Regions from separate parts of the Homo sapiens genome. Here regions 1, 2, 3, 4, 5 and 7 are each linked to region 6. Evidence: promoter capture Hi-C in human tissues and cell types (Jung and others, 2019). All regions are on one chromosome and are shown on one strand. The core of a region is centred on a gene start or on the middle of the fragment in contact, and the rest is flanking DNA. Distances in the headings are between cores, read along the strand shown.

Region 1 (2,700 bases), core at 167-2,666, 630 kb after region 6:
GGACCAATAAGAAGATCTTCCAGTACTGAATGCTCATCATAATGACATTTGCAGATTAGCAAGCTTGAAATTTTTAAAAATAAAGCCACAAAAAATTTGACAAGCATTAGAGAAAGGCTTTCTAAGTAAAAAGCAAAAACCATTGAGGAAAACATTCATATATTTGAGAAAAAAATTAAAATTATTAGTATATTAAAAACACTATAAATAAGAAACCAGGATGCAATATTTGCAACGTACATGGTAGACAGAGAGTTACTATCTGATACATAAAAAAAGTTCTTTTACATCAACAGGAAAAAGAAGAATTCTTTAATTGAAAAATAGGCAAAGAATACAAAGAGGCAAATTACAAAAGGAAAATAAACATAAGAGTTTAAATTCAACTGTACCAGTATCACACAGTAAGTTCCATTCTTGGCCATCAAATTGGTGAAGGTTAAAAACTGAAATGAATTCCCTGTGATGGAAGATTATGGGAAAGCAGACACTCTTCTACTCTGCTGGTTCGTCAGTATTTCTGTGTAGAGGATACAACAGTAAATGAGAAAGACAGACCCAGCCCCCATGGAACTCAAGGTCTGTGGGGAAAGCACCACAAACACAGATAGAAATAAAATAGTCAGGGTGGATTTTGGGTGTAGCTGTCAGGTAGAACCCACATTCATTACCCAACTCTTCATCTGAACCCTGTGGTGTAGACACGGGCTAGAAAGGCCAGAATCCAGTCTTTTGGAATGCATGTGGCATACAAGGTATGTTTCCATAGTAGGGCTTCTCATTAAAACCATCCCACAGGTGGGGCCAGAATCAGGATTAGGGAATGGAGGAACACATTTTCTCTTTCTCAGCATTGAAAATAAAGAAACAAACAAGGATAAAACTACTCCCACTTCTTGTTAAGAAGAGGAAACTGTAAATATTTATAATGTAATATGAAGATTAACCTGATGTGTTGGATGTTTTTACTTCCATGATCTCAAGCCAATTCTTCTCTTTAAAAATGACCTTCCTGCCATTTAAAGTAGTTTTAAACTGTCTACATCTTAACCCATTTACCCTAATTCTGGACTATATTCTAAAAAGTAATAATTAAAGAGAAGCTCAAAGGGTTATGTTTCTCTCAGTATTGTTTGTAATAGAAAAATAAAAATTAGAATACTCTACAACAACCTGAAAACTATTTAATAAAAGATTACTAGAAGTAGTTAATATTTTTGTTTGCTAAGATTTTTTCATGAAGAAAAGTGCCCTGAGCATATTTTACATAAATAGTTTATAAAATGGTATGTTTACTACATCCAAATAGTTTTAAAATATATATAATGATGAGAAAGACCAAATGCATGCATTAAAATGTTAATAGTCATTTCCCTGGGTGGGGAAAATGCAAATATTTTGGCTTATATTTTGAAATGTTCTATACTTTCTAAATTTTCTACAGAAATAATTGGGGAGGAAATGTATAATCCTTTCAAGTTTTAGTTTTTTGGAGTTATGCATGTCATTTAATTTCTCAAAATGATGAGGTACATAAATGATTATAATTTTTCTTTTTATAACCATGAATCATCAGGAAATCATGATTAAAGTTTTACTCTTTAATTTTAGTTTCTTGGTAGAAAAGTACAACCTGACTCCAGTGGTATCTGTTATTTTCATTTAGGAAAGATAAAAGAGTACAATTACATCCTAGAACTGTGAGAAACTATCCACATTTCAGTGTTTAAGTGAGTTATTCCCAGGGGTGGTTTTGTGATGCCCCATCCTGTTATTTCCAATGACTATTTCTGATGTTATTTCATATTTCTCAAAGGATTATCACAATCTATGAACCATCTTTTGCCTCACCCACTCTTCAATCTTTCATGTGTAATCTGTTGAAAGTTCTCCTTGATGCTTCTTTCCAAACCGATATGGTTATTTTGAATATTTCTTTGGAACGTTTAAACTACATTTTAAAATTTAATTCTTTTTAATGGCAAAATCAATTTCTGATCAATGTGGAAAAGTTCGAAAACACAGGTGCATCAAAAAAGAAGATACGTCCCATAATCCCACAGCCCAGAGAGGATGACTCTAAATCCCATGGTATATCTATGCCTTTTCTCATGCATAAATTTTCACTACACATCACACACACAAACATACATATTTTCACCAAATAGGATTATATTGCCTATACATTTTGTCTTTTCACTTAGCAATATATACTGAACATTTTTCCAAGTCAACAAAAATGTATCTATAGTATCATTTTGAAGTGTAAAATGTATTCAACTGTGTAATGTTTATCATTTATTTAATTCTGTAATAATAAACATTTAAATTTTCTATTTTTTAAATGTTTTTAATCATTATTGTCATAAAATGCACTGCAATGAACAACCTTGTAGTTAAATTTGCACGTCATCTAGCTTGAGCTACGTTTTTTGTATATATGTTGGACGCTAACAAAGTCATCAAAGTAAATTCACAATTCTCTCCTCTACATGTGATGTACAATATAAATCAGTATTTCTTTTTTTTTTTCAGACAGAGTTTCACTCTTGTTGCCCAGGCTGGAGTGCAATGGCACGATCTTGGCTCACCACAACCTCTGCCTCCCGGGTTCAAGCGATTCTCCTGCCTTAGCCTCTCGAGTAGCTGAGATTACAGACATGCGCCACCACGTCCGGCTAATTTTGTATTTTTAGTAGA
Region 2 (2,700 bases), core at 161-2,660, 920 kb after region 6:
GAAAAAGGCAGAGGTGGTGGTAGCACTCCTTTTAACCTTTCTTGTAGTGCTGGCTTGGTAGTGGCAAATTCTCTCAGCATTTGTTTGTCTGAAAAATACTTTATCTCTCCTTCGTTTATGAAACTTAGTTTAGCTGGATACAAAAATCTTGGCTGATAGTTATTTTGTTTGAGGAGACTGAAGATAGATCCTCAATCCCTTCTGGCTTATAGGGCTTCTGCTGAGAAATCTGCTGTTAATCTGATAGGTTTTTCGTTACAGGTTAACTGATACCTTTGCCTCACTTCATCTTGGCCTTATGTAACCTGATGATTATGTGCCTAGGTGATGATCTTTTTGCAATGAATTTCCCAGGTGTTCTTTGAGCGCCTTGTATTTGGAGGTCTGGATCTTTGGCAAGGCCGGGGAATGTTTGCTTGATTATTCCCTTGAATAAGTTTTCCAAACTTTTAGATTTCTCTTCTTTCTCAAGAACACTAATTATTCTTAGGTTTAGTCGTTTAACATAATCCCAAATTTCTCAGAGACTTTGTTTATATTTTTTTGTTCTTTCTTATTTGACTCTGTCTGATTGGGTTAATTCAAAAGCCTTGTTTTTGAGCTTTGAAGTTCTTTCTTCTACTTGTTCTAGTCTATTGTTCAAACTTTCTGGTGTAATTTGTATTTCTCTAAATGTGTCTTTCATTTCCAGAAGTTGTGATTGTTTTTTCTTTATGATATCTATTTTTCTGGAAATAATTCATCTATATCCTGTATTATTTTTTACATTTATTTAATTTGGTTTTCATCTTTCTCTGCTATCTCTTTGAGTAGTTTAATAATCAACCTTCTGAATTCTTTATCTGAGAATTCAGAGATTTCTTCTTGGTTTGGATCCATTAATCTTTTGGGGGTGTTATAAAACCTTGTTTCATCATATTACCAGAATTACTTTTCTGGTTCCTTCTGATTTGGGTACACTATTTCAGAGGAAAAGTCTGGAACTCAAGGGCTGCTGTTCTGATTCTTTTGTACAATAGGGTGATCCCTTGATGTAGTGCTCTCCCACTTTCCCTAGGGATGGGGCTTCCTGAGATCCAAACTGCTGCGATTATTATTGCTTTTCTGGGTCTAGCCACCCAGTGGGGCTACCAGGCTCTGAGCTGGTACTAGGAAATGTCTGCAAAGAGTCCTGTGATGTGATTCATCTTCAGGTCTCCCAGCTGTGGATACCAGCACCTGCTTTGGTGGAGGTGGCAGGGGAGGGAAGTAGACTCTGTGAGAGTCCTTGGTTGTAGTTATGTTTAGCGTTTTGGTTTTCTCAAATGCTAGTTATTCTAGCAGTGAAGTTGTCACATGGACAGAGTCAGGACCTCTGGTTAGCCAGGACGTTGCAGGCAGAGGAATTAGCTGTTGTTTTGTCTTTCCTTGGAGCAGGATTATTCTGTCATGAATTGCTGTAATGGTTTGAGTTGGTTGGCCTCTAGCCAGGAGGTGGCACTTTCAAGAGAGCACCAGCTGTGGCAGTAGAAGGGGGATATAAGCTTGCCCTAAGTTGGACAGGATAAGTTTCTCAGGTAATGGGCAGGGCCATAAAGCTCCCAAGAATTTATGTGTTTTGTGTTTGGCTACCAGGCAGGTAGAGGAAAACCATGCAGGTCAGACTCTCCTTGGGTCAGGCTTGCTACGTCCACTGTGGGGTATGGGGAGGTGGTTATCAGGCCAATGGAGTTATGTTTCAAGGGGGATTATGGCTGCTTCTGCTTCATTGTATATGTCACCAGGGAAGTGGGGGAAACCTAGCAGTTATAGGTGTTACCCAGCTCCCACACAGCTGGTGAGGCCAGTCTCACTTCTGCTGTGCCCCACCAATAGTGCCAAGTTTATATCCAGGCAGCCTGCATGCAGGGCTCAGATCTTGCCCCAGGTTACAAGCCTGCCACTGAGAAAGCAAGCATGGCTTTTAGGTCTCATGCCTCTCCACCTTCCGATACTGATGGCCACTGCTCCTGTGCTGGTATCTCTAGCAATTCCTGTTTGTCCCCTAGATTCTGCTCAAGAAAATTCATGCTTGAACTAAATTATTACGAAGTTCAGTGGGAAGCTTCTTTCACCCTGTGATCCCTCCCTACTTCTGATGGCTACCTTCTCCAAGGACCCCTGTGAGATAGAGTCAGGGATGGCTTCCCTGGGCTTGAGCTGGGACCTGGGAGTGCCTACAGGGCTCTTCCTGCTGCTTCTTCTGCTTTAATATTTTGCTCAGCTCCCTAAATTTGTTTCAGTTCTACGTAAGGTTAAATCTTTTTCTCATGACCTGGATTTTCAGATTCCGCAGTGGGATGTGTGTTCAGAGGCATATTTTCCCCTTTCATACTTTGGGAACTCACAGTTTTTTGGCTATCTCATGGAGTTTGCAGTGGCCAGCCACTTCTTCCGCAGGATCTGTGAACTCTTTCAGTCTTCCTGGCATGTTCCTGTGGCAGGTCTCAGAGCAAAAGTTCATAGTGTGAGTCTTCACATGCTGTCCTGTCTGTCCAACTGGGAGCTGCCCATTAGTCCTGTCTCCCATCTGCCATTTTCTCTCCTTAATCCTGATAAACTAATCCAATTTTTATTTTTTAAAAAATCACTGCTATACCTATCTCCAGTGTCAAAGTCTTTCTAGAGTAATCCTATATTCAGGTCTGTATCACACAGTACTAACCAAAGAGTCCACTCTGT
Region 3 (2,700 bases), core at 150-2,649, 660 kb after region 6:
AACCTTAAACATGCCATTGGGCTTATTTTTCCCCTTTGGGGCTAGACAAATAAATGATAAAGTTCATTAGAGAGAATAAAAAAGCAAGAATAGCTAGGAAATCCCAGAAAAATAAAAGCAAGAAATGAAATGAAGAATACTTAGCCAGATATTAAAGCATATCACAAAAGCTTTATAGTTAAAATAATGCAGTATCAGTACATAAATACACAGACCATTGTAACAGAAAAAAACAATACATTGATCACTTATGCAATCAAGAAAGGCATTATTGCAAACCACTGATGACAAGGTGTATTGTTTTATATATATATATAAAATATATATAACTGGATAGCGAAAGAGAAAGAAAATTAGATTTTTTTTAAAGAAGGGAAGCACATTTTATTTGTAGTGAACAATAATTCTAATTGAGTTGAATTATATTACTGTTGATCTTAGAAACTATAGAGGCTTTACATATTTCTCAGATGCATAATATAATCTGTAAGGTGATTACTATGTGGAGAAAAACAAGGATAAAAGAAACCAAAACTGGAAATGGTGCATGATAAAGGAAACCAGAAGTGAGTATATTCCCACTAACTTTGAAATTAGAACCAAAAAAATTAACTTCAGTTTGTTTAGCATAAGAGCATTTGCATTGCAGCCTTTTTTGATATGTAAGATAATGCCTGCAGAGTTCTAGTATTGTGCTCAGTAAAAGTAATATTATCGTTGGATTTCATATCCCCTGAAATTCCCAAAATGATACGTGTATATAACTCCTGACAGATTAACATAATATACATGTATTCAAATTTTTATTTTTAAAAATCAGTTTACTCCAGATACCGAGATCCTCTTATAATTTATTTTCACTTTTATATAAACTTTTTATTTTATAATAGATTGGAACTTACAGAAGCATTGTGAAGATAGGACAGAGGGTTCAATGTACTCCACATGCCGTTCCCCTAATTATTAACATCTTATGTCAGAATGGCAGATTTATTACAATTAATAAAGCAATATTAATACATTTTTACTAACTAAAGTCCATGCTTTATTCAGCTTTCTTTCATTTTTAAATTTCTTTAATTTTAGTATTCTTCCTTCTTTTCCAACATCCCATATAGGATGCCACATTACATTTAGTTATTATGTCTCCTTAGGCTTCTAGAGTGCTTCAGACTTTCCTTGTTTTTGATGACCTTGACAGTTTTGAGAAGGCATTTGAAGAATGTCCTTCAATCAAGATTTAAATTGTTTTTCTCATGCTTTGACTGACGCTATGAGATTTGTCAGGAACAATTAAAAAGCTAAAGTATTTCTTTTCATTACATCATATAAAGTGTATATACTATTAATGTGAATTGTCACTGTTGATGTTAATCTTGACCACCTGGCTGATGTAAAGTTTGCCTTTTTCACTGTGAAGTTAATATTTTTCCCCTTTCCATACTAGACTATTTAGAAGACAGTATCTATGTACAGCCCACACTGTAGGAGTGGGGAGTTAAGCTCCACTTCCTTGAGGTCAGAGTAACTACTTTATATAAATTATTTGGTCTTATTCTGCATGGCAGGTTTGTTTAATCTCCCCAATTCCTTATTTTTTCAATTATGTATTTATATTAGTATAGACTCATAGATAGTTATCTTATACTTTTGTTGATAATTCAATACTCTTTCATTTATTTCATTGCTTCAATTGTTCCAGCTCTGGCCATTGGAGCTCTTTCAGTGGGCTTCTGTGCTCCATTGACATATCTCCATCATTGTGGGATTTTCTTTTGTTTAGCACTTTTTTGTTTCTGGCACTACAAAATGCTCCAGGCTTATCTTGCACATTTTTCTGCCCCAGTCCTTTGAATAACCAATGTAAATGAATCACCAGTGTAAACAGTCATTTCACCAAGAAACCTTGTTCCCTTTTTACTGGAAATTGCTATTAAAAAACAAAATCTGGGTACTAGATGGTATGCTTATTTCTACTGGGGTGTCATTTCTTCTAAGTCCTCTTAGCTGAAAAAGTAAGAGAAACGTGTGTATAGCAACCCATATATATTTCTTCTTTTTTTTGAGGTGGAGTCCCGCTCTGTCACCAGGCTGGAGTGCAGTGGTGCAATCTCAGCTCACTGCAACCTCCACCTCCTGGGTTCAAGCAATTCTCCTGCCTCAGCCTCCCGAGTAGCTGGGACTACAGGCACGGGCCACAATGTCCAGCTAATTTTTGTATTTTTAGTAGAGATGGGGTTTCACCATGTTGGCCAGGATGGTCTCGATCTCTTGACCTCGTGATCCACGTGCCTCAGCCTCCCAAAGTGCTGGGATTACAGGCATGAGCCACCGCGCCTAGCCCCAACCCATATATATTTCTATGTGTAACCATCTGTATCTGTAATTAGTTAATCATGATTTCATACTGCTGTCTCCAACTGTAATCCATTACCACAGGGATGATTATATCCTCATCCTGTTGCTTATTTTTAAGGTTGCACTCCAACAGCAAGAAGCCTGGCTCCTACTCTCTTCTATCCATTTACTTAATTGTTCAATTACAATGTATATGTATAAAAGTATCAGAACTCATCATTTGTATTTCCCTAGGAAACCACTTCATCAACTATAGTACAGTGCTTTATGTAGAGTTTCTTTAGCTCTTATTCTCACACACTACTCAGTTGCAAAATTACTCAGGTCAGCACCTTTTTGCTT
Region 4 (2,700 bases), core at 121-2,620, 940 kb after region 6:
CTATCAGGCCATAGAAAAGCACAAAGGAAACTTAAGTGCATATTTTACTAAGTGAAAGAAGCCAATCTGAAAAGGCCATATGATGTACTCCAAATATATGACATTCTGGAAAAGGTAAAACTATGGAATCAGTTAAAAGAAAAAGATCAGTGACTGCCAGGGTTTGAGGCGTGGGATAATTTATCTACAGAAAATTTTCAGGGCAGTGAAAATTTTCACGGAAGCACAGAAGATTTTCAGGGCAGTGAAAACACTCTGTATAATGCTATATTGATGAATACATATTATTATACATTTACCTAAACCCATAGGATATACAACACTAAGCATGAACCTTAAGGGAAACTATGGACTTTGGGTGATATTGATGTGCCAATGTCGTTTCATCGACTGTAACAAATGCACCACTCTGGTGGGAGATGTTGACAATGGGGAAGGCTGACCATATGTGGAGACAAGAGTATATAAGAAATCTCTGTATCTTCTTCTCAATGTTGCCATAAACTTAAAACTGCTCTTAAAAAACTTGTCTTACATGTTTTAAAATTGTACTTTAACTTGTGAGAATTGTGGTAGAAGTACGCTTTAAAATTAATTCATGCCTCTAAAATATTGCATTTGTCATAAAATGTCATTAGGCACGCTCTCATTTAAATCGTCTTGCTCGAATTTGGTCAGGAAATGTTACCGTCTTAATACATCTGGATGATAAACATAGGCTCCTTTCCTTCTAGGGAGGCCATGCAGAAATGTGCTGGCACAAGTTACCTCTTGTTTTGTTTTTTTTGTTTTTTTTGCCTTTGGAAATTTCTTTGGAGGCACAGGACCCGAGGATGTGTAACTGAGATACATTTCTAAGGGCCCAAGGTTAGAGAGAAAAAGGAGGCGGCAGAGAAAAATTTGATAAGTATCAGAGTACATGCTATGCTTAATGCCGAAACCTGATCATTACTTAGTCTGTCCACCTCCCAATCATCGTGATCTGAGAACCAAGGAAGCCCGTGAGAGCTGTAGTGAGATCAAATGAGGGGATGCATGTGAAATGATTTTGTAAATTGTGAAGTGCTGTATATTTATATTCTTCTCACAGAATGGAGGCTCTGTGGGGAGTTTTTATTAGGTACTATGGGAAGAGAATATGAAAGAAATCGAATTCACAATCCTTGTGCCTAATGATCTTACAGATTAATAGCAGACAGAACACGGCAAGAGAGCTATTGTGAGAAAATAATATACCACACACATAAAAATCTATAATACAAGCCAATAGGCTGTAGAGTGTGGGCATGCAGAAAGAAGTATGGTTTTCAGTGAAGACTCTGCTTCAAGTAGAAAATTACTCTCAGTCTTTTCACCCACATTCTGTTTTAGATGTTTTTCTTTTTCATGAGCTGCTGGTATTGTCAAACACTTTCAAGCGTATTGTTTTAGTTAATGCCCACAATTGCTCGCGCCATCCTCATTTTATAAATTAAGAAACCACAGTTCAGAAAAGTTAAATAAATATTTCAAAGATGACATAATTAAGTGACCAAATTTGGGTTTAAATCCAAGCAGATCTCTCTGATATTAATGCCCCTTGGCCACCCTACCTTTTTCATCAGAGAAACACATTAGTTATCCCTTCCTTAATTGAATGAGAATTAGTGTCTAATGGCCAATCCTACTGATCCACAATCCTCTAAATCCAGATAACCTGGGGCTCAGTGAGAGCTGCAGGTAAGCAGCAAAATCCTGGAGGTTTGGCTCTGCCTTTCTAATGCCAGGAGACTGAGAAATGTCAGCCTTGGAGAAACAACAGGTCACCTAGGTGCTCTTGCTAAGACCCATCAGAATGCTCAGGTGTGATGTCTTGGTTTCATGCTGCAAATAAATAAGTAAATAAATGGACATGATTGTGGCTCTATTGTGCTGTGTCATTCTTAGGCATAGTTGGTTTCTCCTGCTAGTGTGCTTCCATGTCTTCCATCTCACTGTTAGAGGCATTCGAACCAGAGGAACTCCATCTTGAGTGAGGGCTAGGAAAAATGAGGCTGAGACTTTCTGGGCTGCATTCCCAGGACGTTAGTTATTCCTAGCCCCTCTACATGTTTAGGTTTAAAAGAACAGATTGATAACATTTACTAAACAGACCCAGACTTCCAACATCTTGAGAAGCATTTCTAATTTTGCTTTAAAAATAATAATATTGATTTTTACAAAATACAGTGATTAAGAAAAGTAACCCTTTATCACAAACCCTTATAGCAGAGCACATCTCCCTATGATATGTTGTTGTTGTTGTTATCCTATATATAAACAAGTATTGTACCTAGAGTGGGAGCATTCCTCCTCTTACTTTCGGGAATGCCCTTCTCTGTCTGCGGAATAGCTATTCTTTCACCACTTTACTTTCTTAATAAACTCGCTTTCATTTTGCACTGTGGACTCGCCCCAAATTCTTTCTTGAGCGACATCCAAGAACCCTCTCTTGCAGTCTGGATTGGGACCCCTAACATAACTTGTGACCATACCCAAATGCACTATCTTTATATTCTGTACATGCACATTACACATGGCAGGTATTCACAAAGTTTTGTTGAATATACTCTATTCACAGACCAGCCTGGTGTAGGAGGTAAGCACAGTTTATGGTCATGGAAAACCTGAGATCAAATCCTATATCTACTATTACTGGCTGTAAAATCTCAATCAAGTTAC
Region 5 (2,700 bases), core at 116-2,615, 670 kb after region 6:
CCTCAGGAACTGAACAGTGACCCACTGGCAGGGTAATTGAATTTTTAATATATTTAATATCATAAAGTAATAGTCCTGAGTGTTTTTATATTACCTAGTTTGGACTTGCAGCACTGCAAACTAGGAAGGTAACCAAAAAGTTGTTAGAAAGTACACACAGAGAAATTAAGAAAATCAAAAGATATCTTCCACAAAAAATAAACCTGCAAACAAAAATTCCAAAATACATGAAGAATTGAACAAAATTTAAAGTTAAAAAGTATCAAAATCAATAATTAAAAGATATTTCACTTCAAATGAAATTGATTTTATAGATGTCTAGCAAATAATTTGAGACAAATTAATTAGTATCCTCATAGACAATAATTAAAGAATAATTTCTATTCAAAAAGGTAAACATTTATTACACAGCATAGGCATAACTGAGCAAAACCTTGGAAAAAAACAATAAGAGATTACGAAAATTATCATTTTAATCATTGAAATAAAAGGACAGAGAGTGGTTTCCAGATTGGCATGTAAGGAGCTTGGAAGCTGTCACTCCATTCTAACAAGTAAAAATCTGAACAAACTGCAAAATCAATAACTCTTCTTCTAAGAGGTATCTACACCTCACAGAAATGAGGTCACAGGGTCAACAATTGCCCCCAAAACTGGTGAGACAGACAGGAAGTTACAGAGAATCACAACTGACCAGAGCTGGAACCTCACAGGAATGAGGACTGAAGTAGGAAAATATGAACTGTAATTGAGAAATAGAGATTTCATGAGGACAATTCTAGGGGTTACAATCTCCAGGAAGACCTAGTAATGGGGAGGCCAATACATTTTTGAGAGCTTTACCTCCAGAAACTACTAGGTTTTCATTGTAAATACCAGAGAAAAATTCCATCATGCTTCCAAAAAGGGGAGGGGAAAAGTAACTATTTTGAGATACGGCAGAGTATTCTGTTCTTTTTAACAAGGCCTGACCACAAGACAAATTATTTTACCTGAGCCTAGCCTACTATGTTTTTATCAGTGCATAACTGACTTGGAGGAAGGAAAATATTCAACTTTAGCCCAGTATCACCTTCTTTCCATCTGGGGGATGTAAAATACCCAAGTCCAGCTTACACCAGCCTTTCACATAAAGGGATAAAACTACCCAACTTCTGCCCCTACTAGCTATCCTATCTCACATAAGGGGTAGGTGGGTGGGGTGGGAAAATGAGAAGAACTGGTAATTATCAGTTTACCAGCTCACCAAAAGAATAAGACTTAATCGTAAGACTATAAAATGCTTCCCCTACTCCCAAAGCTTACCATCACATTACTAAAGGCCTAATTTACCACAGATCACTTTACCTAGTACATTATGCTCAGTTTGTACCAAAAAATTAAGACCATACCCAAGAGGGAAAATACAATTTGAAGAGACAAAGAAAATATCAGAAACAGACATAGGAGAAATGTTGGAATTATGAGATTGGGAATTAAAACAACTATGACTAATACGATAAAGGCTCTAACTGATAAAGTAGATGGCATGCGAAACAAAATGGGTAATGTAAGCAGAGGGATGAAAAATTAGAAAGAAACCAAAATTGCTATAGATGAAAAACACTGTTTCAGAAATGAAGAATGCCTTTTGTAGACTCCTGAGATGACTGGGCATGGCTGAGGAAAGAATTTCTGAGAATATGTCAATAGAAACATACAAACTGAAATGCAAAGGAAAAAAGGCTGAGGGAAAAAAAATAACAGAACATCTAAGGACTTTTGTAGTGGGACAACTACAGAATGTGTAACTTACGCATAATGAGAATACCAGAAGAGAAGAAACAGAGAAAGAAACAGAAGAAATGTTTGAAACAATAATGACTGAAAATAACCTCCAAAGTAATGTCAGACACCAAACCACAAGCCCAGGATGCTCACAGGACAACAAGGAGGATAAATGCCAAACACACCCACACCCTCACCTAGGCATATCATTTTTAAACTATATAAAACCAAACAAGTGAGAAAAATTTTTGAAGGAGATCAGAGGGGAAAAAAAAGCACCTTACCTACAGAGAAACAAAGATAAGAATTGCATGACTTTCCTCAGAAACCATGTGAGCAAGAAGAGAGTAGAGGGAACTATTTACAGTGTTGAGAGCAAAACTGCCAAACTATAGTTCTATATCATGTAAAATTATTCTTCAAAAGTGAAAGAGAAATAAAGTCTTTCTTAGACAAACCCAAATGAAAATATTTTTTGACAGTAGACATGCTTTGCAAGAAATGTTAAAAACAAAATTCTTTAGCGAGAAGGAAAATCTTATAGGTCAGAAACTTGGTCTACATGAAGAAAGCATTAAAGAAGAAATAAGTTAAGGTAAAATAAAAGCTTTTTTTATTCTTAATTGTTCTAACAGATAACAACTTATTTAAAAGAGTCATAGCAACAATGTATTCAATTAGGTATGCTTACGTATATGTCATATACATATATATGCATGTTTGCATACAAATGAAATGAATAATAAGAATCATACAAAGAATGGGGGCATTAAATGTATCTGGTTAACATAAAGCACTCACACTAACTGTGAATGGTATACTGTTATTTAAAAGTGGACTTGGATTAGGGTTTTTTTTTTACAAATTATAAAGCAAGCACTAAAACAAGTAAACAATGAATATAACTGATATGCTAAAACAGGAGAGAAAACA
Region 6 (2,700 bases), core at 115-2,614:
TTGTCAGAACATATTCTGGGACCATTGTTTCTCAGAAGTACATAGTAGGTAAGAACATAGTGGATCCTGACTGCAAAAATCCAGCTCTACCACTTACTGTGGTCTCGAACAAAGTACTTAACTTCTTTGTACCTCAGTCTCCTCATCTGCCAGATATGGATAATAAGACCCACTTTATAGGTTCATAGTGAAGATTAAATGACCATACACAACACACATCAAATTACTAAGTGTAGTATATGTTAGCTATTATTATTTTATTTATTCAGTGCTCTACTAATAACCTAGGCCCCATACACAACTGAAGTATAAATTCCAAAAGTGATAGAAAGTTCTTTGTGACTTTTCTGAACTCAGGAACATCTGAAGTAGAGAACAGTATAGAGATCTTGGGTTTGGGAGTACATTCAACAGAGTTTCCAGTTTAAATCATCTGTCTGGTCAGTATGGCTGCAGAGTCATGCCGAAATGAAAATGTTGACTTTGAGTAACTAAAGGTAAAATAAAAGAAAAAGGGAAGGTGGAACAGTGGTAAGAGTTATTCTTGTATTCATCTAATTTAGACTTAGTTGAAATTGAAAATGTCAAGTTATGAGTAGTGTAGAACAGTAGACATCAAACACTTAAAATTCCAGCTTCCTGGATTAATGCTATGGAAAGAATGAAGTTGGTTGATAATGTTTAGCCTAGCAAGAAGGTGAAGAAGAAAGCCATACAAGAAGTGGCTTAGGCAGCAAATTATAAAGGTGACCATTCATTCAAATCAGTAAAACAAACAAGTATACCTTATTCTTTAGGTAAAATTGATGGATCTCTGTTTTCCAGCAGTTCACAAACAGAGGGGTACATTGTAAACAACAAACTAACAAAATAAATTCTGGGATGGCAACCTGCTAAGGTATCCCAGAAAATAAGAGGTAGGACATGAATTTAAAAGATTGGAAGGTATGTCTTCAGTACTGGCCTGGCCCTGAGTAGACTAGTGCTCCCTCCCATAGGGGTGCGTGTGCACACATAATACAGGAGGGAAGCCTTCCCTTCTAGAGCAAGTGATTCAGCTTGGGAGGCTGTGACTGAGCTACACTAAGTAAAAACGGGAGACTTGATTGTCCTTCCTTCAACAGACCTGTCCAAAATGACTGGAAAGTAAATACCGTAAATCACTGTTGTCAGGGCGCACATTCCACCTCCTTCCTCCCTTACCCACAGCGGTCCTCATTTCCACACTCCCTCAACGGTTCGGGGAGAGCTCGTGGTCTAAGTAACGAGAGGACTTCTGACTGTAATCCTAGCACGTCACTTTGTTGAAGGCAGACACGTGGTTCAGAGAGAACTTATAAATCTCCCCTCCCCGGCAAGATCGTGATGTTATCTGCTGGCAGCAGAAGGTTCGCTCCGAGCGGAGCTCCAGAAGCTCCTGACAAGAGAAAGACAGATTGAGATAGAGATAGAAAGAGAAAGAGAGAAAGAGACAGCAGAGCGAGAGCGCAAGTGAAAGAGGCAGGGGAGGGGGATGGAGAATATTAGCCTGACGGTCTAGGGAGTCATCCAGGAACAAACTGAGGGGCTGCCCGGCTGCAGACAGGAGGAGACAGAGAGGATCTATTTTAGGGTGGCAAGTGCCTACCTACCCTAAGCGAGCAATTCCACGTTGGGGAGAAGCCAGCAGAGGTTGGGAAAGGGTGGGAGTCCAAGGGAGCCCCTGCGCAACCCCCTCAGGAATAAAACTCCCCAGCCAGGGTGTCGCAAGGGCTGCCGTTGTGATCCGCAGGGGGTGAACGCAACCGCGACGGCTGATCGTCTGTGGCTGGGTTGGCGTTTGGAGCAAGAGAAGGAGGAGCAGGAGAAGGAGGGAGCTGGAGGCTGGAAGCGTTTGCAAGCGGCGGCGGCAGCAACGTGGAGTAACCAAGCGGGTCAGCGCGCGCCCGCCAGGGTGTAGGCCACGGAGCGCAGCTCCCAGAGCAGGATCCGCGCCGCCTCAGCAGCCTCTGCGGCCCCTGCGGCACCCGACCGAGTACCGAGCGCCCTGCGAAGCGCACCCTCCTCCCCGCGGTGCGCTGGGCTCGCCCCCAGCGCGCGCACACGCACACACACACACACACACACACACGCACGCACACACGTGTGCGCTTCTCTGCTCCGGAGCTGCTGCTGCTCCTGCTCTCAGCGCCGCAGTGGAAGGCAGGACCGAACCGCTCCTTCTTTAAATATATAAATTTCAGCCCAGGTCAGCCTCGGCGGCCCCCCTCACCGCGCTCCCGGCGCCCCTCCCGTCAGTTCGCCAGCTGCCAGCCCCGGGACCTTTTCATCTCTTCCCTTTTGGCCGGAGGAGCCGAGTTCAGATCCGCCACTCCGCACCCGAGACTGACACACTGAACTCCACTTCCTCCTCTTAAATTTATTTCTACTTAATAGCCACTCGTCTCTTTTTTTCCCCATCTCATTGCTCCAAGAATTTTTTTCTTCTTACTCGCCAAAGTCAGGGTTCCCTCTGCCCGTCCCGTATTAATATTTCCACTTTTGGAACTACTGGCCTTTTCTTTTTAAAGGAATTCAAGCAGGATACGTTTTTCTGTTGGGCATTGACTAGATTGTTTGCAAAAGTTTCGCATCAAAAACAACAACAACAAAAAACCAAACAACTCTCCTTGATCTATACTTTGAGAATTGTTGATTTCTTTTTTTTATTCTGACTTTTAA
Region 7 (2,700 bases), core at 93-2,592, 620 kb after region 6:
TAAATCAGGCTGCTACACAAATAATTCAACATAATGTGGAATGGCTCAAAGCAGCATGATTTATGATGTAATCAAGTACCAGGAAAGGAGCACTCATTCTGCTGCTTTGCCTGGAGGGTTTCAGGCGAGTTTTTTTTTTTTTTAACTTATATTTTAAGTTCAGGGGTACAAGTTCAGGTTTGTGACATAGGTAAACTTGTGTCATGGGGGGTTGTTGTACAGATTATCTTATCACCCAGGTATTAAGCATAGTGTCAATTAGTTTTTTTTCCATGATCCTCTCCCTCCTCCCCCTCCACTTTCCGATAGGCTGCTATGTGTGTTGTTCCCCTCTATGGGTCCATGTGTTCTCATCATTTAGTTCCCACTTAGAAGTGAGAACATGTGGTATTTGCTTTTCTGTTTCTGCGTTAGTTTGCTAGGATAATGGCCTCCAGCTCCATCTATGTCCCTAGGATGTGACATTTGAATGGAATTACACCTGTAACCCTCAGCATTAGCAATTATTTCCTCCAGTGGCATCCTCTCCCTAACACTTTTGCATGACTGACATCTCTTCTTCAGGTATTAGTTTGAGTGTTACGCAGTTAGAGGGGTCTTCATGATCACACGTCTGTAATGGTAAACTCTCTGTGATGGTAAACATGGCCATTTTCTATCACAGCTCCCTCTTCTTTCCTTTTTAGAGCAAATCACCTTCTTTATTATTGTAGATATTTTATTATTTAATGTATTCATTCATTTATTGTCTGTTTCCCCACTTGAATGCAAGCTCCATGAGGGTAGTAAGCTGAGTCTTGTTCACTATTACATTCCTGGTGCCTAGCCTCATGTCTAGCAAAGTAGATGCTGAATAAATATTTATTGACTAAATGAATTGCAATATAGCTACTTAGAATAACCACAATTATTTGTTATTACAAATAATATTGCAATATAATGTTTGCCTGTATATCATCTTGATTATATTGTGAGCCTCTTATAAAAGATTCCTGCTTTATTGATTTGATTCTTTTTTACTATGGAAATTCTTTCTGCTCTCTCATAACTAGTATGTATTCAATCAGTTCTTTCTTCATAAATAAATGTAGAAATTATTCTTCCTTTATCCATCGACTTTACTTGAAGGAAGATAAGGCCATTACAAAGGAAACTTTTTTAAAAGCCTATCAAAAAGTTTAAGGAAGAAAACTAAGTTGTGCCACTCCAAGTTGAGCAAAAATAGTCTGCCATTTTGCAGAAAGAAAAACAAACAAAAAAAAAGAAAACTTCTGAGATCACTTTCTAGATATAATGTGGATAAAAATTGTGACAAGATGAAGTATTCAAGAATGTGACCACTAAACAGAGCCCTGTTGGAAACTCTTTTGATTTTTATCCTTGGACATATCTTGAGAGGTCAGTAGTCTACCAGGTGACCAGAGACGGCATTTCCTCCCTGTCAATGCTTGGTACATTCACTTTGCCTCAAATGTGGCAAACATCTCAGATTTATTCCTTGATGTCTCAATTTTAGCATGAACTCCTGAGGCCATTTGAGTTACAAATTGACAAGCATGAAGATTAAGCAATATCTGTTTAAAAAAAAAAAAACATAGACTTCATCATACTAAAACTCCTTTTAATGTTATGCCCTAGCAGGACTTTTTGATGTAGTACCACCCCTTATCAAAATAACCTTGGAGTCCAATTTATCCCTTTCTTTATCATGATTAAGGAAATTGCCATATACGTTGATGGAATGATAATTAAACATTTGGCTGGAACTTGTGCCTGGGAATCAATTCAAAATGAAAAAATTATTGAGTGTCTACTATGCACACAGCCAGAACCAGGTATCACTGGTCCCTCATTGTTTGTACTCTAGCTGGAAACACAGACATTGAAGCAGGGAATTTCAGTGTCATGTGGTATTAGTCTAAGGTATACATGTGGTGCCATAATAGCTCTTAGAAGGAGTATCTCATCCAGATATGATCAGGGAGATCTTTGTACAGCTGCATATCAAATGCCATAAAAGCAATCTTAATCTTGTTTTACTTTTTCCAGAAGAGTTTGTATCTTCAGAATAGCTTATATTTAAGAATTGTCATCACACTTGCTGATTTTTGTTTGTTTAAAATATTAATTCTTGCTTGCATCAATATATCCTATGTCTAATTTATACTGGCATTCACATAACAAAGCCATCTCTGGGCTCCAGATTATGAGAGTTCCATGCTGCTAAAAACATATCTGTTAAGACCAGTTTTGTCCCTTAATAACTAAACTTTAGTGTATGAGGACCAAGATTGATCTAATTTAATCTCCAGAGTAATTATGATAGCAAGTATCTGGTGCATCACAATTTTTGAACTGGCAAAGTCTGAATTTATGCGATGAATTAAATTTGACATAGACAAACCACTGATGTTCATAGTGCAGATTTTGTAAACATAGGTAAACACATAAGAAAAGGGAGGTCACATCTAGTTGATGCCAACTTCTGATATGGCAAGTCTAGAGAAAATATTGGCTATTAGAGATAAAAAAAACACTGACTACCAAAATTACGTGGCCCACTAGTATTGAGCATTCGCTCTACCATGGTTCAACAGGGCAATTATAGTAATTTACCATATGTATTGGCTTAGACGTCTTTCTTCACTGCTAGACTGAGAGCTCCTTGCGAATTAGGATCAAGTCTTTGTGTCTTAATGC

What was found. The method cuts DNA at HindIII sites, captures the fragments that hold promoters and counts their contacts. A contact is called where the count stands out against the background at its distance.
Region 1: a contact is called between a fragment that was not itself captured here and the fragment with the promoter of TGFB2 in region 6, in 2 of the 25 tissues and cell types used here (heart right ventricle and neural progenitor cells).
Region 2: a contact is called between a fragment that was not itself captured here and the fragment with the promoter of TGFB2 in region 6, in 1 of the 25 tissues and cell types used here (aorta).
Region 3: a fragment that was not itself captured here is called in contact with the fragment with the promoter of TGFB2 in region 6 in 1 of the 25 tissues and cell types used here (mesenchymal stem cells).
Region 4: a contact is called between a fragment that was not itself captured here and the fragment with the promoter of TGFB2 in region 6, in 1 of the 25 tissues and cell types used here (lymphoblastoid cells).
Region 5: a contact is called between a fragment that was not itself captured here and the fragment with the promoter of TGFB2 in region 6, in 2 of the 25 tissues and cell types used here (mesendoderm cells and thymus).
Region 7: a fragment that was not itself captured here is called in contact with the fragment with the promoter of TGFB2 in region 6 in 2 of the 25 tissues and cell types used here (adrenal gland and mesendoderm cells).

The regions. Positions count from the first base shown.
Region 1 is chr1:218,976,390-218,979,089 of GRCh38, forward strand. No RefSeq gene overlaps it. Among named protein-coding and RNA genes, the nearest start is that of LINC01710, 59 kb to the left of the region's middle. The HindIII fragment of the contact is 4,084 bases long and covers 1-2,700 here.
Region 2 is chr1:219,261,503-219,264,202 of GRCh38, forward strand. It overlaps a transcript of LYPLAL1 not described here. Among named protein-coding and RNA genes, the nearest start is that of LYPLAL1, 89 kb to the left of the region's middle. The HindIII fragment of the contact is 4,009 bases long and covers 1-2,700 here.
Region 3 is chr1:218,998,978-219,001,677 of GRCh38, forward strand. No RefSeq gene overlaps it. Among named protein-coding and RNA genes, the nearest start is that of LINC01710, 82 kb to the left of the region's middle. The HindIII fragment of the contact is 4,618 bases long and covers 1-2,700 here.
Region 4 is chr1:219,288,300-219,290,999 of GRCh38, forward strand. It overlaps a transcript of LYPLAL1 not described here. Among named protein-coding and RNA genes, the nearest start is that of LYPLAL1, 120 kb to the left of the region's middle. The HindIII fragment of the contact is 5,673 bases long and covers 1-2,700 here.
Region 5 is chr1:219,016,297-219,018,996 of GRCh38, forward strand. No RefSeq gene overlaps it. Among named protein-coding and RNA genes, the nearest start is that of LINC01710, 99 kb to the left of the region's middle. The HindIII fragment of the contact is 3,766 bases long and covers 1-2,700 here.
Region 6 is chr1:218,343,972-218,346,671 of GRCh38, forward strand. TGFB2 (transforming growth factor beta 2) reads left to right here and starts at 1,365. Exons shown (of 7, transcript NM_003238.6): 1 at 1,365-2,700. It overlaps TGFB2-AS1 (TGFB2 antisense RNA 1), which reads right to left and starts at 1,707. Exons shown (of 3, transcript NR_046268.1): 1 at 1,632-1,707; 2 at 1,204-1,417; 3 at 225-491. RefSeq lists a silencer at 1,293-1,352 and an enhancer at 1,733-1,782. The HindIII fragment of the contact is 13,667 bases long and covers 1-2,700 here.
Region 7 is chr1:218,959,985-218,962,684 of GRCh38, forward strand. No RefSeq gene overlaps it. Among named protein-coding and RNA genes, the nearest start is that of LINC01710, 43 kb to the left of the region's middle. The HindIII fragment of the contact is 4,652 bases long and covers 1-2,700 here.